Regions from separate parts of the Homo sapiens genome. Here all the other regions are linked to region 2. Evidence: promoter capture Hi-C in 16 types of primary human blood cells and fetal thymus (Javierre and others, 2016). All regions are on one chromosome and are shown on one strand. The core of a region is centred on a gene start or on the middle of the fragment in contact, and the rest is flanking DNA. Distances in the headings are between cores, read along the strand shown. Region 1 holds the start of TRS-GCT1-1 (tRNA-Ser (anticodon GCT) 1-1). Region 2 holds the start of ABT1 (activator of basal transcription 1). Region 3 has its middle 2.8 kb from the start of H3C6. Region 4 has its middle 15 kb from the start of H2AC6. Region 5 overlaps H2BC6-AS1 (H2BC6 antisense RNA 1). Region 6 holds the start of HFE (homeostatic iron regulator). Region 7 holds the start of H4C3 (H4 clustered histone 3).

Region 1 (4,266 bases), core at 622-3,121, 500 kb before region 2:
CTTGTGGCCATGTCGTCAGTGCTACACGTTTCTTCAATGTTGGTCCCTCGATTTGTCTTGAGAATCTAAGTAATTGAATTTCTGTGTTGGTGTATTTGTCGTGCTGTTTTGTTTTTGTTTTTTTCTGCTTATCTTTTTGATGAATTTATTTTAATGTTCACAGTAGTAATGATTTCTAAAAGAAGCGGCTGGGATAACCACACCTCAAGTTTTTCCCCCTTTTTGGCAGCTTCATCTCTCTCTCTTTCTAGCCCCACCGTCACCTTCCTCTCCTCTCTATTGCCCTCTCCCCTTTCTCAGGCTCGAAGGCGTTTTTGCAGTCATCAGGTAGAAAGCCCACCAGAAGAGTACTCATTAAACTGATCACGCGCACAATATTGACAATCAATACCCCATCAACCATAAAGTTAAAAAACCCAGCAACACCATCGTTATACTGATGATACAAAATTACAAGAGCTCCTTTTTCCTCTCCAACGCCAGGGACCTGAATTCCAGGAGAGTTGAAAGGGAAGTTGGCTGGACTTGGGTGTTGTTTCCTCCTCTTCGTATTAAAAGACCTCCCCCGACGAGGGTGGGATTCGAACCCACGCGTGCAGAGCACAATGGATTAGCAGTCCATCGCCTTAACCACTCGGCCACCTCGTCTTGATAACCCACGTTTCCCGAGTATTTTATTTCAGAGTTTGTAATAGGAACCCACAGGCGGCCTTACAAGACTTAGGAAACGGTTTGAAGACGTTTGGGAGACGTGGAGATGGCTCGTTTTCACATGAATGATCAAGAACTGAGTGGAAACGCTTCGAGGGGGAATAAACGGGCTTAGCTTTCGTGGGACTCACACAAATGTTCAAGACATGATAGAAACGTAATTGCCGGGCCGGTCTCTCCCTTTCTTCCGCTTCCTGGTCCCGAGGCAGGAGGCGCCTGAGCAGGCTGCGGGCGTGACCGGGCCAACGGGGCGCACGGGGTTTGCTGTCGACCTGGGGCGTCAGGTGAGCCTGGTCAGCCCTTCTGTAGGCTCACCGCGTCTCGCTGCGTCGGATAGCGCACCTGGGAGCCAGCAGGAGACCGAGGTTCCCAAAACCGTTCACACCGGAGTCGGTTTCTCTTCAGAAGCCCACGCAAATCAATCACAGGCTAAACAACAGGGAACATAGGGGAAATCCTGCAGGAATGGACCCCTGCTGTATTTTCACACTCTCAATGTCAGGATATTTTACGTTAGATTGCACTAACATCTTGAGTGAATACCACCTTTGCTAGTTTCTGTGAATTCACAAAGAATCATCCGCTTTTTTTTTCCTTGGAAGAGCCCTTATATTGCAGTGTTTGCTGCGTTGACCTGCCTGAAATCTTCAACCTCAACTCAACCCACTTCCTTACCCGTTGTTTTCCATGCTCAGTCCCATTTGGGTTTTTGCCTCAAGACAGATCTAGTTTTCCTCTTCCAACAAGTGATTTTCCCTCATGGAACGCTCTTTCCCTTTCTCACTTTAGCCTGGCTGAATTATTTATCCATACTTTGGTTCTTAAAGCTTTTTAAAATTATTATTAACAAAATTTTTAATCAAAGTTAACCATACATGTTTTAAAAGCTCAATTACTTCAAAAAATATGTGTATGCGAAACAGTGGTCTCTCCTATCTTATTCCTCTTAGTAGAGGCAAACATTTTCAGCCATTTGGCGTTTTGTGTTGTTTTTACCTGCATGTCATCATGCTATGGCAAAGATGGCTAGTTGTCCAATCATTATTTTTGTTTTTTCCAAGAAATGGAAAATTAGCTGAGCTCATAGCCACCCATGAAAAGATTACAGTGACTTCCCTTGACAGTCAGCGTCATCACGTGACCAATTTCTAAGTAAAGGCATAAGAGAGAAAATGTATGTAAAACTTCCAGGTTATGTCCATAAGAGAAGGAAATAACCTCTATTTATCTCTTCCTCATGTATCTGCTTTTGAGAATGAAGGCTTCATGGAATAGTGATTGGACCCAGCACACTGTAGGAAGGAAGGAGCCATGACATAGAAGACTGGAACCAACACCATGAAGCCAAAGCATCACCCTGGCATTGATTACACCCTCAGACAGTCACAGGAGAGATCAGTAATGCTTCTTTTAAGCTATGGTTCTTTTGGGTCTTTGTTACAGAGACAAAATTGTACTCTAATACATATGCTACATATTAATTTTAAGCTTAGTATTTTCCATTGATTTCCCATTACACAAATAGAAGATTCACTTCTCTTCCTCACCGTAAACACCTCCACAGACACTCTTCTGATCAATTTTTCCTTCAAATATAGTTATATCAGAATTTTTATTGAATAAGTAATCACCCTTTATATAATTATGTTTGGCAATATTATTTACCTATCTTTCCTATTTTGTTTCCTGAACATTATTTTTAGAAAAAAATATCACAAATAACCATAAAAGCCTTGCCAAAACAATAAACTGAGTGATTTCTAAACTTGATATGGGGTTTTCATCGTGATGTCTTCCTTCACCATTGTACTATACATTTTATTTCCCTGCCACTGGTGCTGTATGCCCAATTTCTCATGTATTTTCTGTCTTACTATACCTTCACATTTTGGTGGAGTACATTGTAAAGCAGCTTCCTGAGAAAGAGTTCATTGTAGATGAGACTTTTTTTTTTTTTTTTTTTAATTTAAGACGGAGTCTTGCTCTGTTGCTCAGGCTGGAGTGCAGTGGCGCGATCTCGGCTCACTGCAAGCCCCGGCTCCCGGGTTCACGCCATTCTCCTGCCTCAGCCTCCCGAGTAGCTGGGACTACAGGCGCCCGCCACCAGGCCCGGCTAATTTTTTTTGTATTTTTAGTAGAGACGGGGTTTCACCGTGGTCGATGAGACTTTTCAATACTTCTCCAGCAACTTGATTGAATGTTTGTCTGGGAAATATTTTTCAGGCTTTTGAAATTTATTTCAGGATTTTGAGAGAGTTCTCTATTTTCTTCTAGCTTCCAGTATTCATTTTGAGAAGTACAAAGTCATTCTAATTATGGAGTCTACATTTGCAGTTAGCTTTTATTTATCTATTTCAGGATAATTTCCTTGTCCTCAATGTTCTGCAATGTCTGAAAGATATGCTTTAGTGTGTTTCTGTTTCCATTCCTTGTTTTGGGAACTCTATTACATCATTAAATCCTGTATTTCGGTTAGGGATATTAGCTTGTTTTTCGTTGTTGCTAGTTTTCTGATTTCTGTGTTCTCTGCCCTTTTTTTTTTTTTTTTTTTTTTTTTTTTTGAGACAGAGTCTTGTTCTCTTGCCCAGGCTGGAGTGGAGTGGAGCAATCTCAGCTCACTGCAACCTCTGCCTCTTGGGTTCAGGTGATTCTCTGCCTCAGCCTCCCAAGTAGCTGGGACTACAGGCGTGTGCCACCACACTCGGCTAATTTTCTTTTCTTTTCTTTTGTTCCTTTTTCTTTTTCTTTCTTTCTCTCTCTTTCTCTCCCTCCCTCCCTCTCCTCCCTCCCTCCCTTCCTTCCTTCCTTCCTTCCCTTCCTTTACTTGGATTTTAAATCTCCAGTATGTTTCCTCTACCTTTTGTTTTGTTTTTACTGCTCTTTCCTGGTTACATTCTTTTTACTTTTAAAAAATTAATAGACATTTTTAGGCAGTTTTTTATTTACAGAAAAATTGAAGAGAAAGTACAAAGAGTTCCCATATATCTCCTATCCTTCCTATAGCTTCTCTTATTATTAAATCTTATACGATTGTGGTCCATTTGTTACAACTGATGAACCAATATTGATACATTAATATTAACTAAAATTTGTAGTTTACTTTAGGTTCACTTTCTTTGTTGTAACTCTTATGGATTATGTTGTAACTCTTTCCTCTTTGATAAATGTATAATGGCATGTGTCCATCATTACTGTATCATGTATAATAGTATCTCCACTCTAAACATTCCCTGTGCTTCGCCTCTTCATCCTTCCCTCCCTCCCTCCCTCTTAGCAATGACTGCTCTTTTTTGCTGTTTACATATTTTTACCTTTTTCACTACGTTATATAGTTGGAATCATATATACAGTATGTGGCCTTTTCAGATTGGCTTCTTTCACTTAGCAGTATGCTTTTAAGATTCCTCCATGTCTTTTCCTGTCTTGATAGCTCCTTTCTTTTTATCATGAATTAATAGTCCATCCATTGTGCCATAGTTTGCATTAAATATATCCATTCACCTATTGAAGTACATCTTGATTGTTTATGTTTTAGCAAATCCAAATAAAGCTGCT
Region 2 (4,098 bases), core at 934-3,433:
AAAATATTTTTATTTTCTATAAATACATTAGGAAATGTATTTCTTCCCAACCCAGTCCACCCCATTAACTCAATTTTTTCTACATAAAAAAGATGCTAATACCACCCTCACCTGTGACTGCTAAACAGAGAAAGATTGCCTGGACTAGGCATTATCCTCCTAGTTGGAAATAAAGGCCCTTTCTGGGGGCAGGAAGTGGGATTTTCAGGGGACCCTACAGACGTAGGCAGCCAAGAGTCAAACAAAACAAGCATATGCAATAGTCATAATTATGCTAGTATGACAGTATGAATTAGGTGACTCAGCCAGGCACATACAGGAGTTCGGAGTGGGGACAGTGGAAGCCCACAAAACTCCATGTTTGGGCCATCAGTAGACACTTGGTCTGAGAAACACAGTAAAATGTCTGCCCGGGTAGTCACGATCATTCTAGTATGAGGTAGACAGGAAGCAGAGCAGGGCCAGGAAATGGAAGGGGCCACCCAGGCCCTCAGGAGTCCCTGACAAGGGAAGGTCCCTCCATGCTCTCTGAGGGTGGCGGGGCTCCAAAGATCCTGGCCAGGAGCCCTTTGTTGGAGCGGGCCTTGTCCTGGGCAGTTGCCAGGCGAGCCCGTTCACGTCCCCCTGGCCGTGCTGCTTTACGGGCCCTCAGTTCCTGCTCAGTAGGACGCTGGGCAAATGTCCAGGAGCCATCTGGGCGAGCAGGGTCCCCATCGGCCGCAAGAAAGCGTTGTCCCCGTTCCACACTTTGAAGATAGAAGTCGGTCTCACGCTTGGCTTGAGCAACCTCCGCTCTCAAGCGCTGCCTGCGCACCTGGCGCTCAAAGGCGAGGTGCTCGCTGAGGTGGGACCAGGTGAAACGGTGCAAGTACTGTGGGCAGAAAAGAAGAAAAGATCAGGATAGTGCAGATTAGGGAGAAAGATGAGACAAGGGGACAAGGCCAATGAGAGGCCATGGGGATACTTGGGCCAGAGTTGGGGAGAAGGGAGGGTGAGAGGTGTGGCAGAAAGATCTATCTTCTCACCTTGAGGTTCCAAAGATCATAACGGAAGGGGCTGCGCCTGCGGGCACCCATAGGCGTGTTGTGTAGACTGGCCGCCACGCGCTTGGCTATGCGCTTGTCACGGAACTCCACCCATCCCTCGGTGTAGTCCTTGGTGTAGGACCGCTTTTTTCCTCCGGCAGCTGCTGCTGCCTTCTTCTTGCGTCTCACGAACCGGTCTGCGCGCCAAAGACAAAGACCCGTCCAGGACGCCTATGCAGCACTCACTCAAAAGCACCTCCCACTGCCCGCAACGTTCTTCACATCTGCCAGTGGGAGTCCCACCTGAAGAGTTTTTGCCCAGGAGGAAGGGAACTGTAAATCGCACCCTTTCCTCTAGCTAACTCAATTCTTTCCTTAATTGTCCACTCCTTAATCTGGCCAGCCCTGAACGCTGCTTAAAACCGGCACAAGTCCTCAGCCTCAATGTAAAATTGAGGGTGGAAAGAAGAGGGGCGGTTGATCAAATAGTTTCTTGACCTAGGCAGCAATGCTAAAGAGTTATGTTCAGTTTTGTAGAAAAGCTGACGAGACTTTTACTCAGGTTGTATTCATGTAACAAACCAGTAAACAGGTCCGGAAAGAGAGGTGAACAGAGCCGGGATAAGAACACAAATAGTAACAATCCGAGAACTAAAGAACCACCAGACACACTGCGCTACCCACTCTCCCCATATCCCCTCCGCCCGCCCACCCCAGCATCCTCACAGACTGATTCACCAGCCAGGAGCCAAGCACCGCACTCCCCACCCCCAAAATCCAGCAACTCGTGCCTCAGCCTCGCGCAGCGAAGCAACAGGACATGCATGCTTGCACCCCGCCAGCGAGCGACAACCTCCTCCTGTCACCGTCAGGGCCTGCATACTTACCCTCAGCCTGAAAGAAGACGCGTCCGACCTCGCCATAGGCGCTGAGAAGGTTGCGGACGTGCAGGGGCCGGAAGCGCGGCGGGATATGGCCCAGGTACACAATACCTGGCACTACCCGTTTCTTGCTGCCACAGGCCGCTTCTTCGGATTCCTCCTGCTCCTCCTCCGCATCTAGTGTCTGTTCTGTCCCTTCCAGCGGCTCTTGCTCCGTTGCGGCCTTCTCCGATTCCTCTGCCTCCATGTTGACTGACACGAGCGGCACGACGGCCGTAAAGTGCCTTGCCAACTGACGCAAAACGCGTGCGACGGCCTGAGACGAGGGGGCGGGTCCAAGGTGGTGATGACAAATGAAAGGAAATGATTGGGCAATACAGTCGGGTCCAGGGGAAGGCCGAGGGGAGAGGGAGGAAGTGGTGTGTCAGGTCGGAAGCCTGATTCAGAGCGTGGAAGCGGGATGGGAAACTTGGGTTAGGCTCAGATTCCCGGTCAGATCTCCAACTCAGGACAGGCAGAACCAGAAAAGGCAGATCCCCAAATATAACCTACCCTATAGAACGCCTTGTCGAGACGCTAAAAGGCGGGTTGATGCCGGCTTTTTAGGGAATTTTGCAGAACAATTTTAGAGAAGTTTCTATGTGTTCTAGCGATCAAAATAGCATTTTATTCAAGGGCCCCGGGTGCGATTCCAGCTGAGGAATGACTCACCTTTTAAAGTTTATAAATTTCATTTAAAAATTTTGAGTTTTGAGGTTTTAACTATTTCTGGAAATTTACCTCGGAATTTTGAATATTTTAAAATTTAATTTTGAAAACAGTTCAACTTTGGAAATTTAATTAGATTTAATTTTTGAAAATTTAAGTTGTGAACTTTCAGTTTAATATTTTACATTTGATTTTGTGAATGTCTGAAAATTTAAATGTGTGACAATTATTTGAAGAATTTGTTTGGCATCTATTACACGTGTGTATTGATACATTATCCATATGCATACTTATGTTGCAAATACTTGTCAGAGGCGCACAAGCCTCCAATTCTGGCGACCCCCCGGCGGCGCGCTTATTTCTGCTCTCCCTGGGTCTGTCCTCAGATTCCCTATCAGATCACAAACCACTTTTCCTTCTATGACCTACGCAACCGCAGAACGGACCGGGCCACGGCGGTCCTGCTCCCACCAGGCGGCCTGCGGACCATCCCTAAGCCAAGCTCAGGGCAGTTTTCCCCGCGCGGGCTCGGGTCCTCAGTCTCTTATCGTCGCCCGAGGGCGCGACCAGCAGGGGGCGCCGTCCCCACCCTTGAGGCGTTTCAGTTCTTCCCATCGGCGCCAGCGACAAGCTGACTGCAAAGGACAGTGCTGGGAACCGCGTACAAGTAATCCGGTTAGCTTTCTGGAAGCAGCCCGGGGCGAGTTTGATGACTATCAACATAAATCCGTCCTTGCTGCGGCCTGACAAAATTTCCCATCTCGCTCCAAGAGCGCAGAGTAGCCCAGAGAATGGAAGCAGGGAGTAAATGTGTCCACTATTAAAATCAGAGATGACAGTTTTTGCCAGTCCCCAAGTATATTTCTAAAGTAACAGGGCCCTGCACTCTTTCATGGAGTGTCTAAAAGTCTAATAATAGACTTCTCGAATTCAAACACGCCTGTTTCATTAACTTTATTGAAGAGAACTTTCTGTCAGGTAGGTGTCCACTGCTCCTTTTTTGAAGAGGAGCGGGGTACGATGAGAGCGATAAACTCCGTCTACTGCTATTTAATTATAAACACTGACATCTTCAAAACACAGTACAGTTAATGAAATGAGAACACGTGTTGGGGTGGCTTTAAAAGATCTGGAGCTAGGGGAGGGGCATGATGGATGCAAGAGTGTCGGTAAGTTGTGCCAGTGTGGTGGCTAATGGTAGCTATTAGCTATTTTCTCTACTTTGTATATATTTGAAATTATCATTAATAAAATGTTTATTCACACCAAGTATCAATATAACAGGGGGTGCTAAAGGACCGTGAAACCGACAAAAAAAAAAAAATGAAGCCTTGGGGCAGCGTGTTCTTCCCGTTCCCCACATTCCTCATGATCCCTTCTCAACTTGGTGAAAATCGAGTCCCACTCAACTGTCTGTGAAGCAACCCTTGTTAGCAATTTTCAGGGTGGATTATTTTCCTTCTCTGAGCGTCTTACAAATTCCT
Region 3 (4,070 bases), core at 1,146-3,645, 370 kb after region 2:
GTAAGACAACAATGGCGCAGTTTCTCCGGATCCCTGCGGGAGAGAGCTGAGGTGCACCGAACAATTTAAGACACATCCAACAGAACTTTTATAGGAACTGGACTCACCCAAATAACAGGACTTCTTAACTTGGTTTTCGCTTCCACACTCAACAGCTCCCAATTACTTTGAAAAAGTAACAAATGTTTACTGGAAAAGATTCTTAAAGAATGACATTACAGCCTAACACTATTGTGAATTAACCTATCGGATTCCCTGTAAGGTGTTCTTTTCCTAGCCAATAAAAAGAGCAGTTTGGGAATTCCTAATTTACATACTTTTAATCTATTGGCTACTTTGGTTCAGGCAGAGTTTTGATTTACAAGTTCGCGTTTGTGTAAGCGTACTATAAATATTTCAGAGAGGGATAGTGCGCGTGCGTGCCCGTTGCAAGGTCTAGTTTCTTTTTGTTTTTCTTTCCCAGTAGGTTTTCTTTCTCATTGGAAAGCTATTTTGTAAAGTGTAGCAGGTTCGCAATGACGCTGGCATGTAGTCCAAGGCGATTGACATCATGAATATGCTGGAGCCCCCGTCCTCCAGGGAGGGGAAACGGCTAAACCAAATTTATCACTGCCCGCAAATGCCCGCGGATGTCTGCAAGCTGGAGTGGAGAGGAGACAAAGGATGCTTTGTGCATTCCTGCTCATTCCCTGAATTCTGTTAAACCTGCCCTATTTTAGGGCATTCATCAAAATTCTGCTAACCACAGGATTGATACAATTGCACCTTTCAAGTTAGTGTCTATTTTGCAAATTTGAATTATCTTAGGACTCGTGGGCAAGTCTTGACTGAAATTACACATTGTCGTGCGTTTCAATCTCACATCTGAAATATATATGAGTCCCTTGCTTCTCTCCTTTTCAGAAAAAGAAAATTCTGTACACTTTAAATCACGGTAAAACGGTTAGGTATGTTGGCAAAATTGTTTCATAGGAAGCAAGGGAAGAACTGAAATCCTTTTGTATAATATGATTACGTATTTGTGGGCTGGGCCGTTTGTTAATGAGAGCTATGCACCCCCTGTGCTTTTCCTCTCCACACTCCCTACATCTCATCTTCTGAGGCCCAAGACCTGTTTATTGATATTATCTTCTGTTTTCTCATTTTCATTTTAGTTTTTTCATTTCTATTATTAGAATGTTAATATCTACATCTAAAAAATGTTTCCAAAATCAAAAGATAAACTTTAGGTCACAGTCAGTGAGAACCATTAAGGAAATTCCATCTTTATGCCCCATAGTTCTATTTCCTCCCCAGTGTTCTTAAATCTGTCAATCCGGTGTTTTGCCATTGGAACCTACCTTCAGTTCCTTTCATAATCCTCATCTCTAAATATGTGTAAAGCTTTATTTTAGAAGTCAGTGCAAAATTTACATGATTACATAAGAACTTAGCAGCTCACTTGTATTAATCAGTAATTTCCATCACTATTTCCATACCTGAACACAATTTCCCATAGGATCTGTGTTATGTGATAAAACAGTCAGAAACCAGTTGTGGCTACTGAGCATTTGAAATGTGGTTGTTGCTGCTGAGGACTGACTTTCTTTTTTTTTTGAGAAGGAGTCTTGCTCTGTCACTCAGGATGGAGTGCAGTGGGGTGATCTCAGCTCACTGTTAGCTCCACCTCCCGAGTTTAAGCGATTCTCCTGCCTCAGTCTCCAGAGTAGCTGTAGTTACAGGTGCTTGTCACCATGCCCGGCTTATTTTTTTGGGGGGGGTGGGGTGGAGGTATTTTTAGTAGAAACGGGGTTTCATCATGTTGGCTAGGCTGGTCTCGATTTCCTGACCTTAAGTAATCCATCCACCTCGGCCTCCCAAAGTGCTGGGATTATAGCCGTGAGCCACTGTGCCCGGCCTGAATTTTTATTTTACTTTTCATTATTTTAATTCAAAGGCTGATACTTCAGTTATTGGAAAATGTTAGATATGTTTTAAACAATCAGATATATGAATTTTATTTTTCAGCACTGAAATTTATGAAATCAAAATGAAATTCCATTTATTTCCAACAAAAATGTAATATCAAATTGAATAGGATGTCCCTCATATTTAGAAGACTTAAGATTTAAAAAAGAATGTGAAATATTGCATTAATAATGTTTTTATATTGACTATATTTTGAAATAATTATTTTGTATTTTGTTTTAAATACAATAATTATTAAAATTCTTTTACCTGCTTATTAATTTTTAAAATGTGCTTACTGGAAAATTCAAAATTACATATGTGGCTTGCATTATTCTTTTTTATTTTTATTTTTTTTTTGAGGCAGAGTCTTGCTCTGTCACCCAGGCTGCAGTGCAGTGCTGCCGTCTTAGCTTACTGCAACCTCTGCCTCTCCGGTTCCAGCGATTTTCCTGCCTCAGCCTCCTGAGTAGCTGGGATTACAGGCACCAGCCACCACACCCAGGTAGTTTTGGTATTTTTAGTGGAGATGGGGGGAGTTTCACCATTTTGGCCAGGCTGATCTTGAACTCCTGACCTCAGGTGATCCACCTGCCTTGGCCTCCCAAAGTGCTGGGATTACAAGCATGAGCCACCGCATCTGGCCGTGGCTTGCATTATTCTTTGTAGATAGCACTGTTCCAGGATTCTTCATTTCTCTTCTCTGTTTCTTGATTCTTTACCATATCTTGACAGCATAGGCCTTGAAACAATGAGTACATTCAATATATTTCTATGAACCCAGTTATAGCATCTGGACTTTATTTACAATAAATCAATATCTATATTTATATCTACATCTATATGTCTATACAGTTGTGTTAGAGAGCTAAGGGGGCTTGTTAAGCCATTACTCAATGACGCAAGAAGAGGTGGGCAACTAGCAAAATTATTGATGTTTGAATTTTTCCATAGCAAAATATCAGTAAGTGGACAGTATTTGAAATTCTTTTAGCCGGGCACAGTGGCTCAGTCCGATAATGCCAGTGACCCAGGAGGCTGAGTTAGGAGGATTGCTTGAGGCTAGGAATTTGAGGCTGCAGTGAGTCATAATTGTGAGACTGCAACCCAGTCTGGGCAACAGAGCATGACCCAAAAATGAAAAAAAAAAAACAAAACAAAACAACAAAAAAAGAAATGTTATATGAATATTTTCCCCTCGATCATATATTTTTGAGGGACAGCCTCTACAACTGCTAATTCTGGTGTTTAAAAAAAGGGGAAGAGAAATCACTGTGGAAGCACAATGCCATTTCATGAAAAGAAGAAAGTCCGGAAAATAATTTGCTATTCCTGGAAGCTACATAAGCTCCAAGAAAAACTCGGATGAGAACATCAGGTCAATTACTTTGAAGTCTAAAAAGAATAAAAAGTTAAAGTGTTTATTATTATATAGGAGCCAAGGCGAGCTCTGAAGCTTTGCTGTAAGATTAGCTTGCAAAAGGCAGATTAATTGGAGAAAAGTTACACAAATTTATTAACGTCTTCAAGGGAGCCTTTAGGATGAAAACACAAAGATACAGGAAAAATTGTCCAATTCTATGCTTAGGTTCAACAACATATGGACAACCTTGTAGAAATTTGATTGGATAAAAAGGGTATGATGAAACGTTAATAAACCGAGTGGAGAAACCCAGCAAGGCCTGTTTGTCTAGACTCTTCTTGGCCTCTGTCAACTGAAGAATGAGAAGGTTCATACATTTGCAAAGGAGCTTTATTTCTCAAAGAGTTGCAGCCTGCAAGGTGGCCATTCTGACAGGCTGGGAAGGGTAGCTTTGGTTTGCTGAGAGACAGGCACTTGGAGGGAAGCAGGGAGGGATAAAACAGGAATTTTTGAGGATTGGGTTGGAGAAATATACATATTCAACAGGTTATAGGAGGAGCTATGAATATTCATGAAGGACACCCAATCAGATGTGTATTAGGTTTACATGTATGTAAGATATGTCCCATGATCACTTTGGGGTGAAGATTTAACATTTAAATGAGTTATAATTAGGTCCTATATATAAAACTGAAATGTAGGGCAGAAGTCCATGATCTGCATTCTCAGGAGACTGGTCACAACCAGTTGTGGGCCTGCA
Region 4 (3,767 bases), core at 582-3,081, 460 kb after region 2:
GAATATTTAAGCAGAGAATATTTAAGTGGTGTGACGATGTATGTTTACTGGCTCTCCAGAAACAAAACAAAAAAACCCTGATGTAACATATGCTAGTTCCCATGATGTAAATGCTGCTATTATGGCCAGTTTCAAACCACCAATGTTACGCTGACCACAGAGTAGAAAGGAAGGAAGGCTTTAAAATGACGCATAGATCTTTAATTGGAGGTCAGAGAAAATGAATACCAAGGGCAGAAATATATCTCAATGTACGGATGTGGAAAAGCCATTGACTTGTTTTTGTGACCATTACCTAAGGCCAACCAATTCAGAACCCCAGCCTCTTCATCCTTAATCTGAAGGGACTGTGCTAAAGAAAATGGGAGTTTCTTTCTGTCCTCTTTCATTCTTTCCTTCCACAGGGCCTGTCTACCTAGGGCCTTCCACATTTCTCTTTGCTCTGCCAAGTTTGCTCAGGTACCCAGTCTAGATGAATTCTCCATGTCCTCACTGAAGGTAGGAAGTCAAGTTGAACCAAAAGCAGGGGGCATCCCTGTTTGGAAAGCCTCTGCTTCTTGAAAGGTGGCTCAGCTGAGTTACAAACACGCATGCCTTCCACTGGGGCTGCTGCTTCTGAACCTGGAGCTGACTTGGTGGGAGGTGTGTGGGTACACTCCACCACCATTCAACATTCCATGTCTACCATGCTGACTCTTCTAAAAGCTTCATGTAGCCATGGGGGCAAACTGCAACCAGACTCAGTTAGTACTTAGGTGTAAGAACCCCAATTACTTCAATTTCTGCAGGTGGAAGCCAGCAAATCTCTGACAGAAATCCCAACATCCTGTCCTGCTTTCACTTTTCCACATTTGAAAATGGACAGAAGACAGTCTTTATATAATCTTGCACATATTTGTCAGGTTTTACAAGGAATATAGTGTTTTCTCATCTGCCATCTCATTTGATAGTTTTTCATAACTCTGGGAGGTACTATTACCTTATTTTACAGAAGAGAAATTCTGAGATGGCAGGTAACTAATCCCATCAGACATTTGGTGAGTGGCAGAGCTGAAAAAAAATCACAAGTATTTTGGCTTCAGATTCCTGTGTCTTTCCAGAACACCTGAGTGTCTATGCAGGTGTGTGTGTGTGTGTGTGTGTATAGACACACAAAACCCACTTTTTATAGATTTATTGTATAGGCATTTTTGTTTTTTTTGAGACAGGGTCTCGCTCTGTTGCCCAGAGCTGGAGCGCATTGCTGTGATCATGGCTCACTGCAGCCTTGACCTCCAGGGATCAAACAATCCTCCCACCCTAGCCCTGGAGTAGCTGGGACCAGAAGTGCAGGCCCACCAAGCAGTTAAATTTTACATATTTTGTAGAGATGGGGTTTCTCCATGTTGTCCAGGCTGATCTCGAAATCCTGGGTTCAAGCCATCTGCCCAACTTGGCTTCCCCAAATGCTAGGATTACTGGCCTAAGCCACAGTACCTGGGCAAAGTACTTCTTAAGAATAAATTGGGTGTTCCCTTCTTCCAACTCAGCCTATGATATTAAGGTGGCTCTCTTGCCAGCTCCTGAAAATTCGGGGCCAGAATTGAAATTTCCATACAGAGTAGGCCTCATGAATTCATCAGCCATTTCTCGGGTGACTACTATTTGCCAGGCAGCGTCAGGCACCATGCTGGGACCTGGGAATACAGCAGTGGACCATACAGGCCCTTAGCCACCAATACACACAGATTTGTAAAAGTAACAGTCAGTCTTAAAACCAGACCTTGACTGCAGATGAAAAAGTAGGCAAAAGAGGGCAGGCAGGTCAGGAGGATGTGTTTCCTAATCATTATGCAAGGAAGAAAGGAAATGGCAATTTAACCAGGGAGGTGTCCTAGGCAGAAAATTAATGACACATGCTTTCCTCTCCCTTTGCATTACCTTTTATTACCTCATGCCAGGCTGGAATTTGGGAAATCTGTTTCTATTACAATGTATACATTATACATTAAATAAGATTATGCACATTACAAATAAAATTATTTCAAAATTAAGAAATTACACATAGTTCAATTAAAATTAAATTTGAAAATAATTTTATTTGTGCTGTTCTTTAGAGCACCAACAATTCATACACATGATCTTCATTCTCATAGCCACTTAAGGTAAGTATTACCTCCATTTTAGAGGTGAAGAAATTAAGGTTCAAAATAACTAATTTGGTGATGGCCACATAGTTTTTAAGAACGTTGAGTCTAGCCCAAGAGTGACTGGAATTTTCAGTTCACTTACCACCATTCCAGCAGAATAGCAGAGCAATTTCAATTTTGCAGTAAATCAGGGTTAATCATCCCAGAACTGTTTGATAGCAAAAGACTAAAACAACTCAAGTGCCTACCAACAGTGGACAGGTTACATAAAATATAATGCATTTGCATAATGCAGTACATGCAACTGTGTACAGGAAGCTCTGTATGTTCTCATAGGGAAAGTTCTCCAAGATAGATTGTTATGAAAAGGGCAAGTGCAGAAAAGTCTACACAGTCTGCTACCTGACAAGAATGAAAAAAGTGAAGAAAACACGTATCATTCATTATTGACTGATATCAGCAGGAATGAATACTGGGCAGATACACAAGAAAAAGAAAAGTGACCACCTGGGTAAGTTGAGGGATGGATTCTTTATATATAATCTCTTTACTTCAAATAGTTTGAACCCTGTGAATGTAATACTTATTTAAAAAATTAAACACATTTTGTATTCAGAAGAACTTCCCCTCAATAATATTCTTTCTCTTCATTTTATCCTCCTTATCTCCCCACACATGATGTAGAATGTTTTTAATAAAACAATTTGCGGATGCAGAATCAATCAGTAATGTAGGAATCAGTAATGCCATCCATCCACTTATTCCTTAGAATTGGTAAGTTTGGCAGGCACTTAGGATCCTGGCATCTCTCTGAAATGAGAAGCTTTTGCAACCTAAGAGAGAGAGAAGAAAAAGTAAATATATCTGGAAACCACCTTCTTGGCCTTCCTTACACATACAGAAAAACTTACAGATCCTTTTCTTCATAATGAGTTAGTTCTTTACAGGTACCACAGCCCTTCTCAATTCCTCAAATAACTCCCTGTGGTGTAAAAGGACCTATCCAGACTAGACACTCCAGTTTTGCTCTTCAGATAGGGTTGCTAGATTTGGCACATTAAAAATACCAAATGTCCAGTTAAATCTGAATTTCAAATATATATATATATATATATATATATATATATATATATATATATATATATATATGTATAGAATGTCTCATGTAATATTTGGGTGTGCAGTGAGGGGCATACTTAAGCAATTATTTGTTGCCTGTTTGAAATTCAAATATAATTGGGTATCCTGTATTTTGTATGGTAAATTTATCCTCTGATTCCACTTGGAGGAAGCTAGTTAAGTGCACTTGAACTTATCAGCCCAAGGGCACAAAAAGTACCTATCCCAGTGCAATGCAATAGAATTTTCTGTGATGATAGACATGTTCTATGTCTGTGTATCCAATACAGTAGACACCAGCAACCTGAAATGTGGTGAGACTGAGGAAACTGAATTTTTGACTTAATTATTTAAATTTAAAATATCACATGTGGCTAATGGCTACTGTATCAGAGAGCAAAGCCCTAAAAAGAGTCATGTATCTCCCTTCAATTTAGCAACTGGGATTTAAGATCCAGTGATGGTTAAAATGATACATAACTCAGGAATACACTCCTAAGTCTCTGTGGCTTAGATAGT
Region 5 (4,360 bases), core at 1,127-3,626, 440 kb after region 2:
TTCAGTGAGCCGAGATTGTGCCACTGCACTCCAGCCTGGGTGACAGAGCGAGACTAAATCTAAAAGAAAAAAAAAATCATAGAATGATTTTATGCAAATAGAAATGGAAAAAAATCATGAAAAATATTAACAAAATTTACCCAGGTATTATTTAAAATAATAGTATACCATGACCAAATAAGATTTGGACTAGGAATAAAAGCATGAATCAACACAAAGAAATCTATCTATACTTCATGGCAACAGGTTAAAAAAGAAAAAGCATATGATTTCTTCAGAAGTCAAAGTGATCGAATAAAATTCATAAATCATACCTAATAAAAAATCTTAAAAGAAGATTAGAAGGAAACTACCGGGCTCGGCACGGTGGCTCACACCTGTAATCCCAGCACTTTGGGACCCCATGGTGGGCAGATCACTTGAGGTCAGGAGTTTGAGACTAACCTGGCCAGCATAACAAAACCTTGTCTCTACTAAAAATACAAAAAAATTAGCCGAGTGCGGTGGTGTGCGCCTGTAATCTCAGGTATTCAGGTGGCTGAGATGAATGCGGGAGGCTGGGAAGTGGAGGCTGCAGTGAGCAGAGATCCGGCCACTGCGCTCCAGCCTGGGCAACAGATAAAACTCTGTCTCAAAACAACAACAACAACAAACAAAAACCAAAAACTACATTAACACAATGAAGACTACATATACACATCCATGCACATACACACAAAAGCAATTATAAATCATCAACCACCGAAGTCATTTCTATGAACAGGAGGAAAAAGACAATACCTGGTAGCATGTCTAATGTGACATATTGTTTGTGATGGTAGCTAGCACAGTAAGATGATTAAAGCAAACAATAAATAGTTATGGGAGAGAATATCGAACATTTTTATTTGCTAATAGTACTATATGCAATTAAAATCAAGTCAGTCGACTATTGATTAGGATTAATAGAATTTGATAAGGTTAGCTAGACACAAAATTCATGTAAATAACCAATTATCCAATTATCCTCCTACATGCAGAATTTCAAACAGTGCTTTAGTGTGAGGTCATATGTCAATATGTAACAGAAGTCACAATCTTTTGAAAATCAGTATTACATCTGTAAAAATTTGGAGAGCTTAATTAATTCACAGCACACATAGTGACTCCCTTTTTTTGTATCATTTTTCTGTTTAAATATTTACTTTGTTAACCTAGGCTTGCTTTGATGAGCAATACATTAGGTTTCAATTTTTATTTTCTTATATTATTTTTAATTATTAGTAATCCATCCATTCTAGAAAATTATTGGCCATGATCTTTTAAATCTCACATTTGCATCATTCTCCCTGATTGTTTCTTCTGGTACTGTGATTAGGTCAACGTCAGATCATATTTTACTACTAATTCTAGGTCTCTTTTCATTTATTTATTTATTATTTGAGACAAGGTCTCACTCTCATTGCCCAGGCTGGAGTGCAGTGGTGTGATCATGGCTCTCTGCAGCCTTGATTTCCCTAGCTCAAGTGATTCTCTCACCTCAGCCTCCTGAGTAGCTGGGACCACAAGCACGCACCACCATGCCTGGCTAATTTTTTGTATTTTCAGTAGAGTCGGGGGTTTGCCATATTATTCAGGCTGGTCTCCAACTCCTGGGCTCAAGCAATCCTCCTGCCTTGGCCTCTGAAAGTGCTGGGATTACAAGCATGAGTCACCTTGCCCAGCCCTAATTCCAGGTTTCTTAAACTCACTTTTGCATTTTTATCTCTGCATTTCAGATAATTCCTTAAGATCTGATTACATAGTTTATTAAATTTCTACCGGTAGGTCCAATTGGCTGCTGTTAAACACATGCAGTAAGCTTTTCATTTCAATTTGTCTTATAATTACATGTTTATTTTCTAGAATTTCTATTAGGTTCTTTTTTCAAATCTATGTGGTCACTTTTGGTATTTCCTTAGTCCCTCAATATATTTATAAGACTTTTTGTTTCTTTTTTTTTCCTTCAGATGGAGTTTCACTCTTGTTGCCCAGACTGGAGGACAATTGCGTGATCTTGGCTCAATGCAACCTCTGCCTCCTGGGTTGAAGCGATTCTCCTGCCTCAGCCTCCTGAGTAGTTGAGATTACAGGTGCATGCCACCATGCCTGGATGATTTTTGTATTTTTAGTAGAGATGGGGTTTCACCATATTGGCCAGGCTGGTCTCGAACTCCTGAGCTCAGGTGATCCGCCTGCCTCAGCCTCCCAAAGTGCTGGGATTACAGGCGTGAGCCACTGTGCCTGGCCTCTTTTTCTTTTTTCAAAAAGACACTAGTCAATTCGAGTCTGTTTTTTTTTTTTTTTGAGACAGAGTCTCATTCTGTGGCCCAGGGTGGAGTGCAGTGGCACGATCTTGGCTCACTGCAAACTCCACCTCCCGGGTTCACGCGATTCTCCTGCCTCATCCTCCTGAGTAGCTGGGATTAAAGGCGCACACCACCACACTGGCTAATTTTTTGTGTACTTTTAGTAGAGACGGGGTTTCACTATGTTGGCCAGACTGGTCTCGAACTCCTGACCTTGTGATCCGCCTGCCTCAACTTCCCAAAGTGCTGGGATTACAGGCATGAACCACCGTGCCTGGCCTCAAGTCTGTATCTTGTTAATTCTCCCTTTTCATTTCCATTGTCTGTTGCTTTTTTTTTTTTTTTTTTTTTTCAGAGACAGGATCTCAAACTTTTGGCCTCAAGCAATCCTCCAGCCTCAGCCTCCCGAAGTGCTGGGATTACAGGCATTAGCCACCACGCCCAGCTCCCATTGTCTGTTGCTTTTGTTTTCATTAGTCATACTTCTAGTTTCATGATGTTTAATTTAGATTGTGAAGCTCCTTGTGCATTTTTGGGGGGATATTTTAGCTGTGGCAATTTGTTGAGGTGTAAAATGAAGCTTCTTTTCCAGAGATGACTTGTATTTGTTTCTACCGGGTGCTCAGGGGCACAAAACCAGCCTGGGATATGCCTAAATTAAATTCTCAGCTTGGGTGTTTGAATCCCTATGGTATGAATGCCAGGAACAAGTAAGCATCGATGGCTTGTAGTCCAAGCCTTAGCAGTAGAATCTACACTGCTCAGAACCCAACTTCGGAGCTGACTTTTTTATTTGCATTCATCTGTGATGGGTTTGTATGTGTGGTTCATCCTTCTACTCTTGAGATGACAGATTTAGGTCTGGTGTCTCACCTTCACCTAAGAAGATATATCAGGCTCTATACCCTGGTCAGTTTCCACGGGTTGAGTAAAAGCCAGCTGTAGTGCTTGGGGTTTAACATGGGCCAAGTCCCTGGCTCTGAGTTTACTTTCTTAGACCCTCTTTCTTACTTTTAAGAATTTAGAAAATATTACTCAGGCTTTTATTTATCCGTCCAAGTACCACGCTTGCCATGTTATGGAAAATGTATCCCATAATCCATCATTTCGTGTTTGTTTATGAGGGCATGAGGACAAACTTCTAAATTCATTCCTCTTTTAGACAATGATCATCCATCCATCACTTAAATTCTCCCTCTCAGCCAACATTTGACTCCAAACCTAGCCTCATCCATCTCACATTTTTCACGTCTCAAGTATTTGTTCCTTTCCTTCTGGCCACTCCCTCCTAGTTCCCTCCCGACTCTTTTCCGAGATTCTTTTTCTCCCGCAATCATCCATTCCCCAGCAGTGAAAACCTTTTGTCATCATCCTACCTTGTGCAGCAGAAGCTACATCCTGCCAGAAGGAGGTTTTCTTTCCCTTTCTACCTCCTCCAGTCCTCCGTACTCAGGGGCATCTAGGAAAGGATAAATTGTACTGCAAAGGGGGCTTCAGTCCTGCGATAACTATTGCCTACGTGCAGTCAGGCACCTTAATGATTGACTATTTGGTTTCTGCCGTTACCCGGAGGACTTTTAACCTGAAAGCTGCCAAAAAAAAAAAAAAAAAAAAAAAAAAAAACCTATAAATTAAATGACTTTCAGAAAAAGACGGTTTAGCAAAAGAATTTTAAGGTGTCTCAGAAGCTGCTTCTTTTTCCTGCACCTCAGCGCCTAGGATCCGCCTTTCCCTGCCCCACTCGCTTAAGAGCTTCAGACAGAAACTGGCCCAATTACAAAACAAATCAGAAACCTTTGTAATAGTTCCGTGTTCAGCTCACATTGTCTTCAGCCTTTACTTGCAGTTATTACATATCTGCATGGTAAAAATTTTACAAGAAAATGGGCGGGGGTGGTGGTGGAGAAAGCTCCAAACATAAGGAAGTTGTCAAGAGCGTGCACTTTCGTGCTCAGGGCGGGCCGTCACCACACCGAGTCCCGGATCAACATCACGATCAACTTGGAAATCTGCACACGGAAACCAAAGAGCTG
Region 6 (3,849 bases), core at 277-2,776, 510 kb after region 2:
GACTTCTCTGCTTCTCACAACACCCATGATTTCCTGATGTTGTATATCTTTCTGCTCATTTGCTTATTGTCATCTCTCCCACTAGAATGCAAAATATCAAAGGGTAAAGACTTGTTTCCCTGCTCTCTCCCTTGGGGCTTGAACAGTGCAACACATGGCTGGGACTCATTTACACTTGTAAACAATGAATATTTCTGCTCAACATGAAATTTTATTATTCAACCTCTAATGCAGTGTGATGTTTAAGAATCATAGCTATGAAGTGGAGACATGAGCTCTGCCACCAAAGCCCAGTGTACCATTGAATAAATTTGCCAGGAAGCAGGCCGTGCCATGCCTCATTCTTGTCATGTGTAAAATGTGGATACACGTAGTACCAAAACTCAAAGTGCTGTGCTGAGGCCGGCGTGTGACCCACAGAACACTGTGCTACACTACAGGGCAAAATCACTGTCAACTAAGATTAGAAGCAGCTGTAGTACTTGAAATAACATCAGAAAACCAGATTATTTATGTTCTTTGTAACCTGAAAAGAGTTATATAATCTGAATTCCAGTTAACTTCTAGTAAAATAAACGTATTATTAGCTCCTACCTCCCTATGCCTAGTGAAAATCAAATAAGATCAGATATGAATGTAACTTAGAAGTGAGTGCATTGCTTACATGTTCATTATCAGTACTTTGTAGAGAGGCCTCTTAATTACACAGCACATTGCAAATCAATAAAGCCTAGCCGAAAAGAGAATTGTTCAGTTCAAACGTTCAAAACTAACATATACTTAATTTTCCAGGCAAAAGAACAATTGCCAAGAGTGGGGAAAGGCCCGAGGTAGGCCTCTCTCAGGAGCCTCCCACCCTAGAGACCTCCACCCCAGGTCTCACCAAAAGTGGGTGGAATGGTGAAGAATTCAGATCCCCAACGCCACTCTTTCGCGCCCCCACCGCCCAACGCATTCGTTCTGAGGTGGAAACCCCGTGCGGATCCTGCTGTGGGTTTGCTCAGCCTTCTCGGCAAGCACTCAGGGAAGAACTTCCTGTTTGGAGATGACTGGGGAAAAAACTGCACAGCTGACATTGGAAATAAACCCGAGTTCCAGGTTCAAGGAGCCCCAGGCTTAGCTCAGCTCAAGTGAGGAACTACGAGATTTATTTAAAAGCATTCTAGTTGGGGGAAGGGAGTGGGCGGTTCCAAAAGTCACTCCGCAGAGCCGGGACAGCCGGGGGAGGGGGCAGGTCCTGGGGCGAGGGACCCCTATCTGCAGTTCAGTGGTAGGCACTCCCTCACGGGGTCTGGACGCAGAAAGTAGGGAGAGGGGCTTGCGGATAGGGTTGAGCAGGTCCTCCAAAGTTAGCAAACTCCCAAGCGCAAAGAAAAAGCTAGTTTCGATTTTTCCACCCCCGCCGCGCCCCTAGTTCGCCCGCAGCCCTCGGACTCACGCAGCAAGCGCCCCTGCAGGACCGCGGTCTGCAAAAGCATCAGGAGGAGAAGCGCCGGCCTGGCTCGCGGGCCCATTTCCCCAGCTCTGGCCGCACGTCCCCGTTAAATCTCCGCTTCTTTTGGGGGGCGGGGAAACGGGGATGGCTCCAGAAGTCACCCTACAGCTATTGCCTAGGCTCAGGAGATGCCCAGTAAAACTTCCTGGTGAAAAGCAACAGGTCTTTCAGAACTTTAGTTCTCTCTCTCCTACAGCAGAAGGTACCTGCTTGTGAAACACTAGGTGATCCAGTGTCCCCCTTGGTTTTTAAATCCTGAAGGGGTGTTGTTGATTGGGGAAAGTAGCTTCGCAATGTTCTGATCTGAACTTTAGATATTTAAATATTTATGATTTTCAAAATTCAATCATACATTTAAAAATTTTATCTCAACCTTAGACCAACTTATGTCTTATTTGACTTAGAAATATAAAGCTTTTTCATTTTGTTTTTTGATTCAAATTAATTAAGTCATAACATTAACCAATTAGATCCTACTGAAACACCTTCCACAGCCTTCATAATTGAATTATCTGACAAGTGTTTCACAAACTTTACAGTATTGGGATTATCTGGAGAATGATTAAACATATTGAGGCCTGCTCCTAACCCCAGACACACTGATTTAATGGGTAATTGTTAGGTAGTTAGACATTAGCAGTTGGGAGGGGATGACAGAAGAGAGCGGAAAGGCTGTCACTAAGACAGCCACTGGCCCACCTAAATTCAGGCCCAAGACTACCCTAATGCCACCCTAAGGGATGGAGTTTATGATAAAGTCTGTGGCCAAAATATCCTGGAGAAAGAGAAAGGAGGGTACAGGTGGAAATTCCCTAAGGTGGCACATGCCCAACAACACAAAAGCCTGTCTTCAAGTTCACCCCAAGTTCATCATGCCATCATTATAATAGAATTTACATACAGTTTTGCCCCCCCATCCCTGGGAGGCTTTTCTTAACAAATTATAGGTAAGACCATGCACAGTTTAATTTTAGATTGTATAGCTATACACTTCAATCAAATAACATCATCCTGTCACTCAGATACAGCCCAAACCTCAACTCCTCCCCACAAACCCCATAAAAGCACCTTGAGCTCTGTAAAGAAGTGCTGAGTTCACTTCGCAGAAATAAGCCCGCTGTCCCTCAGAGTGTATTATTGTGCTTCAATAAACTTTGCTTTAAGCTTGCATTTTGGTGTTAGTTTGTAGTTCTTTGCTCACTATCACAAGAACTGAGATTGCTGGTTCAGAGCTCCGGCTATAATAATCTCCTCGGTTAAAGGATCCATCCCAATGCATAATTCCCAGTAACAGTATGGGATGCCACCTGGGCAATGGGATTTTAAAAGCTTTCCTTCTCCCTCAACGAAGTTTGGGAATTATTGCCTTAGACATTTCAAACAATATTAATAAATTTAATACACCTGATTTGCTCCAAACCTTTACATATCTAGCAAATTCAACAGGCATTATTTTTGTAAGCATGTATGCAAATTTTGGCAATTCAAGAAAATCAAACAGGATATCAGGGCCTCGACTGTAGGCAAACAGATACAATAACATTGGAAACATGTAGAATATTGATGATGGGCACATTGGGGCTGATAGTACTATTCCTTTTTTTCAATTTTTGGTAAGATATAATTAGCATACCATATAATTCATCTATGTAAAATGCAAAAATTGGCCCGGCTCAGTGGCTCACGCTTGTAATCCCAGCACTTTGGGCGGCCGAGGAAGGCAGATCACCTGAGATCAGGGGTTCGAGACCAGCCTGGCCAACATGGTGAAACCCCGTCTTTACTAAAAATACAAAAATTAGCCGGGCGTGATAGCAGGCAACTGTAATCCCAGCTACATTAGAGGCTGAGGCAGGAGAATCGCTTGAACCCGGGAGGCGTAGGTTGCAGTGAGCTAAGATCGTGCCATCACACTCCAGCATGGGAGACAAGAGCAAGACTTCATCTCAAAAAAAAAAAATTAGCTGGGTGTGGTGGCATGCACCTGTAATTCCAGCTACTCGGGAAGCTGAGACAGGAGAATCGCTTGAACCTGGGAGGCGGAGGTTGTGGTGAGCCGAGATCATGCCATTGCACTCCAGCCTGGGCAACAAGAGCGAAACTCCGTCTCAAAAATAAAATAAATAAAATAAAATGCAAAAATTAATGGATTTTAGTATATTTACAGAGATGTGCAACCATTACCAAAATTTTACATTTCTATCTCCCCAAAAAGAAACCATGTTCCCCTAATTCAGTACCCTTAATTCATCGCCTCCCAGATTCCTCCATTCTCCTCCTCCTCCCCTCCCAGCCCTAGACAATCTTTAATCTACTTTCTTTCTATTTGGAACATTTAGTATACATAGAGGCAT
Region 7 (3,762 bases), core at 286-2,785, 490 kb after region 2:
TCTCCCAGCAGCTGGCCGGTCTCTCAATAATATGGGACTCCCTCAAGATGGCTTCCTGCACCTTTGCTCCTCTAGCCTTGTATGTATACAAGGCTAGCATGCCTGGCATACATAAGGTTAAAAACAAAATCAATAAGTTATGGTTCTTCCTCCAGTTCTGGGGATTATTAGACCACTTTTTTGTTTTGTTTTGTTTTGGATGGAGCCTCGCTCTGTCACCCAGGCTAGAGTGCAGTGGCACAATCTCGGTTCACTGCAACCTCTGCCTCCTGGGTTCAAGCAGTTCTCTGGCTCAGCCTCCCACGTAGCTGGGATTACAGGTGCCCGCCACCACGCCCGGCTAATTTTTGTATTTTTAGTAGACGGGGTTTCACCATCTTGGCCAGGCTGGTCTTGAACGCCAGACCTCGTGATCCACCCACCTTGGCCTACCAAACTGCTGGGAATACAGGCGTGAGCCACCGCGCCCGGACTTAGACCACTTTGTTTTGGCCAATAGGACAACAGCCATAGAACCCTCCGCAAATGAGAGCTTGTCCCTAAAGATGCTTTATTTACATAGCTGTGTGCCGCATGAGCCAAAAGGTGATAACCTTTGTTCAACACGCGCCTCCAGCCCTTCGGTTAAGTCCAAAGTACCATTCTTAGAATGCTCTAAAATACATAATTTTTTTTTTTTTTTTTTTTTTTTTTTTTGAGGAGTCTCTCTCTGTCTCCCAGGCTGGAGGGGAGTGGCGCGATCTCGGCTCACTGCAATCTCTGCTTCCGGGCTAGCTGGGCCTACAGGTGCAGACCACCACGCCCGGCTAAGTTTTGTATTTTTTTTGGTAGAGGGGGTTTCACCATTTTGGCCAGGCTGGTCTCGGATTCTTGATCTCAAGTGATACACTAGCTTTGGCCTCCCAAAGTGCTGGGATTACAGTCGTGAGCCACTGCGCCCAGCAAAATGCTTTTTGTGGAGCCAATCACTTTATTAGCGCTTACCTCTCTATGCCTACTTTATGCTTTGAAATTTTGTCACAGTGTGGCCGGTCATGGCAAACACAATTCATTCTTATGCAGGATGTCACGGTTATTTCTGTCATCCAAACTCATTCTCGCAACGCATTTCAGCTCTTTAAACGACTTTGTGAGCGGCCCTGAAAAGGGCCTTTGGGTTTTTTTGTTTTTGTTTTTTGAAGTTCTCAGGAGACCGCGTATTCTTAGATTCAGCCGCCGAAGCCATACAGAGTGCGCCCCTGACGTTTTAGGGCATATACTACATCCATGGCTGTGACAGTTTTGCGCTTGGCGTGCTCCGTATAGGTGACGGCGTCTCGAATAACGTTCTCTAAGAAAACCTTAAGCACACCTCGAGTCTCCTCATAGATAAGACCGGAAATGCGCTTGACGCCACCGCGCCGAGCCAAACGGCGAATAGCCGGTTTTGTAATGCCCTGGATGTTATCCCGGAGCACCTTACGATGGCGCTTAGCACCACCCTTCCCCAAGCCTTTTCCGCCTTTGCCGCGACCAGACATGATTCCTATCGCAGTGGAAGGTATGAACTGAAACAGTTCCTTAAATACAAACTTGGCGGACCTGATTGAAAACAACATGAGTTGGCGCGGTTTTTTTTTTTTTTCAAATTTGGTCACCAAGTGGGTGGAGCAAGAAAAACTGTTTCATTATGGTTCATTGTTTTGATTGGCCAGTGACAGCTTGCTCTTTGTGGGAGTGGAAGGGTGTTTGCAAGTTGAATGCGCTGTATTCCTGTCAGCTTAATGACGCTAAGCATAGCCCCATTCCACATTTCTTTTTATTTCCACTTGCTAACTAATAAATTACGGAATAGTTTATTGGGGAACATACAAATAATGTTTAAAGGAGGTCAGATTTATAGGTCAAGGGATTTACCCTCCCAATCATTTTAATATTTTTATTTAAACCAGGCATTTTGATGGCCTTCTCTGTGCTGGACAAGGTATAAGTTTGGCTATGAAGTTTCACTCCTAAAGACCCTATGTTTTGGGAAGGCAAAAAGGTAGCCAAATAATTGCAAATTAAAACCTCATAAGTGCAAACTTCTTCCTCGTCACTTTCCCTATCTCGATTCAAATATTTGTTGAATGACTCATTTTTCTGCAAAAGTCTGAGAGAGACAGGGAATATAAACTTAAGTCTGGATAATATGTTTTCCCGGGACGCTCTTCCTGGTCTGCTGTGCCTGTTTGCTGTGCCTGAAATTCCAAACACTCTTCCCTTCCCTCCGTTTTTAATCCCCTTTCAACTTGCTACAGCTTTAGAGAAAAGAACATTCGTTTTGTACAGTTGGGGATTAATTGAAGTGTAGGGCTAATACTTGATTAAGGTCATTACAAAATCTACAGGGTCTTCCTCTGGGAGGTTTTTGTGATAAGATTATTGGTGTTAAAATAAGGCTAATCCCCTTGAAAAATAAATAGAATAGCAGAATTGGGTCTGAATGTGGTTTGAAGAAAGGGACTTCTCAATTCAAAATTTTATTCTTAGCTTCCTGCGGGAGCTTTCCAGAATGCCCATAAGATCCACTTTTGTTTAAAAAACAAAAACAACCCCACCCACCACTCTCTGGTTAATAAATGAATTTCTATTGGGAATATTTAGAATGGGGCTGTGGCCTGTGAGAGACATTATATAGTAACCTCAGACTTGCTCACATGAAGAGAAGAAATCCAGGAATGGAGAAAAAAGACCCAGGAAAGGCCAGAATGCTCTACATGTCATATTGTTTGTATCACTTCTGAAATAATTGATTACATTCTTCTGCCCCAAATTGAGTTCTTAGGTTCTTCCACTCACTGTCCACATGCCACAACACAGACCTTATAACTAGAGACTTAGCTAGGAAGAAATGTCAAACATTACAGAGAAAAAATGCAGAGTCTGAGATCATAAGTAAAACTCTGAAATCTCAACATGCCTTTTAATTCATGAAAATAAAAAATATAGCAGCATATGCAATATGACAATTCTCTGAAAACATACATCATGTGAACTACCCTGGAACACATCTCGCCAAGTGCCATCTTCATTTTAACCAGAGGTCTAGGATGCCTTTCCTTTATTTTGCCTATTATATCATTTATAAAACCCCATTTTTATTTTGATATTTTATTTACTTTCTATTTCCTGCTCCTAATATCTCCTTTCTAAACTTTTCTCAATGACAGTGACTCAAAAACAATGAATGTCAGAACAAATATTTAAAGGATCTGTACATGTAGATATATATATTTAAAATGGATTCTTCCACTCTGCGAAGAATTCAGGCATACTCAATCTTATGGTTAGGGAGAGATTAGGCTCACTCGCCTAATCTGTATGGCTTCTCGTTCGCTTTCCATTTCACCTTCCTCTCACCCATCAGATCAAACTCATTCATTGAACAAGAGACCTAAGCCCTTCAGATTAAAACTCTGCAAACAAGTTGTGGTTGAGAGGATACATGAAGCATTCAAACAAATAAATCTATGATATTAATCAGAGGTTAATCTATGATATTAATCAGAGGTTAATGCAGTGGCTCACGGCTGTAATCCCAGCACTTCAGGAGGCTGAGTTGGGAGAATCGCTTGAGCTCAGGAGTTCAAGACCATTTTGGGCAACATAGCAAGTCTTCATCTCTACTTAAAAAAAAATAACCAGAGGTGTTATGAAAATATAAATTGTCCAGAACTACCCTCCACAAACTAACTCTCTCAGAATATTCGATATGAGGAATGAAATATGGTGTGTGTGTGT

What was found. The method cuts DNA at HindIII sites, captures the fragments that hold promoters and counts their contacts. A CHiCAGO score of 5 or more calls a contact.
Region 1: a fragment that was not itself captured here is called in contact with the fragment with the promoter of ABT1 in region 2 in 7 of 17 cell types (erythroblasts, M2 macrophages, M0 macrophages and 4 more); the score reaches 10.2 in erythroblasts.
Region 3: a contact is called between a fragment that was not itself captured here and the fragment with the promoter of ABT1 in region 2, in 1 of 17 cell types (neutrophils). The highest score is 5.8, in neutrophils.
Region 4: a contact is called between a fragment that was not itself captured here and the fragment with the promoter of ABT1 in region 2, in 1 of 17 cell types (neutrophils). The highest score is 7.1, in neutrophils.
Region 5: a contact is called between a fragment that was not itself captured here and the fragment with the promoter of ABT1 in region 2, in 4 of 17 cell types (neutrophils, naive B cells, total B cells and 1 more). The highest score is 9.2, in neutrophils.
Region 6: the fragment with the promoter of HFE here is called in contact with the fragment with the promoter of ABT1 in region 2 in 1 of 17 cell types (total CD4 T cells); the score reaches 5.2 in total CD4 T cells.
Region 7: a contact is called between the fragment with the promoter of H4C3 here and the fragment with the promoter of ABT1 in region 2, in 1 of 17 cell types (neutrophils). The highest score is 7.9, in neutrophils.

The regions. Positions count from the first base shown.
Region 1 is chr6:27,093,688-27,097,953 of GRCh38, reverse strand. It overlaps TRS-GCT1-1 (tRNA-Ser (anticodon GCT) 1-1), which reads right to left and starts at 648; the gene lies at 567-648. The HindIII fragment of the contact is 661 bases long and covers 1,541-2,201 here.
Region 2 is chr6:26,595,038-26,599,135 of GRCh38, reverse strand. ABT1 (activator of basal transcription 1) reads right to left here and starts at 2,183. Exons shown (of 3, transcript NM_013375.4): 1 at 1,913-2,183; 2 at 1,026-1,222; 3 at 1-871. The coding sequence starts at 2,153. The coding sequence ends at 491. RefSeq lists enhancers at 1,895-2,334, 2,892-3,051, 3,152-3,301. The HindIII fragment of the contact is 8,276 bases long and covers 1-4,098 here.
Region 3 is chr6:26,220,343-26,224,412 of GRCh38, reverse strand. It overlaps a transcript of H3C6 not described here. Among named protein-coding and RNA genes, the nearest start is that of H3C6, 2.8 kb to the left of the region's middle. The HindIII fragment of the contact is 2,020 bases long and covers 1,386-3,405 here.
Region 4 is chr6:26,137,249-26,141,015 of GRCh38, reverse strand. No RefSeq gene overlaps it. Among named protein-coding and RNA genes, the nearest start is that of H2AC6, 15 kb to the right of the region's middle. The HindIII fragment of the contact is 2,247 bases long and covers 708-2,954 here.
Region 5 is chr6:26,158,834-26,163,193 of GRCh38, reverse strand. It overlaps H2BC6-AS1 (H2BC6 antisense RNA 1), which reads left to right. Exons shown (of 3, transcript NR_186648.1): 3 at 1,989-2,920. It also overlaps a transcript of H2BC5 not described here. Among named protein-coding and RNA genes, the nearest start is that of H2BC5, 2.9 kb to the right of the region's middle. RefSeq lists an enhancer at 1,872-2,623 and a silencer at 3,399-3,693. The HindIII fragment of the contact is 1,067 bases long and covers 1,843-2,909 here.
Region 6 is chr6:26,085,106-26,088,954 of GRCh38, reverse strand. HFE (homeostatic iron regulator) reads right to left here and starts at 1,526. Exons shown (of 6, transcript NM_000410.4): 1 at 1,439-1,526. The coding sequence starts at 1,514. It also overlaps HFE-AS1. The HindIII fragment of the contact is 3,203 bases long and covers 1-1,911 here.
Region 7 is chr6:26,101,706-26,105,467 of GRCh38, reverse strand. It overlaps H4C3 (H4 clustered histone 3), which reads right to left and starts at 1,535. Exons shown (of 1, transcript NM_003542.4): 1 at 1,131-1,535. The coding sequence starts at 1,520. The coding sequence ends at 1,209. RefSeq lists enhancers at 1,173-1,863, 1,888-1,997. The HindIII fragment of the contact is 10,429 bases long and covers 1-3,762 here.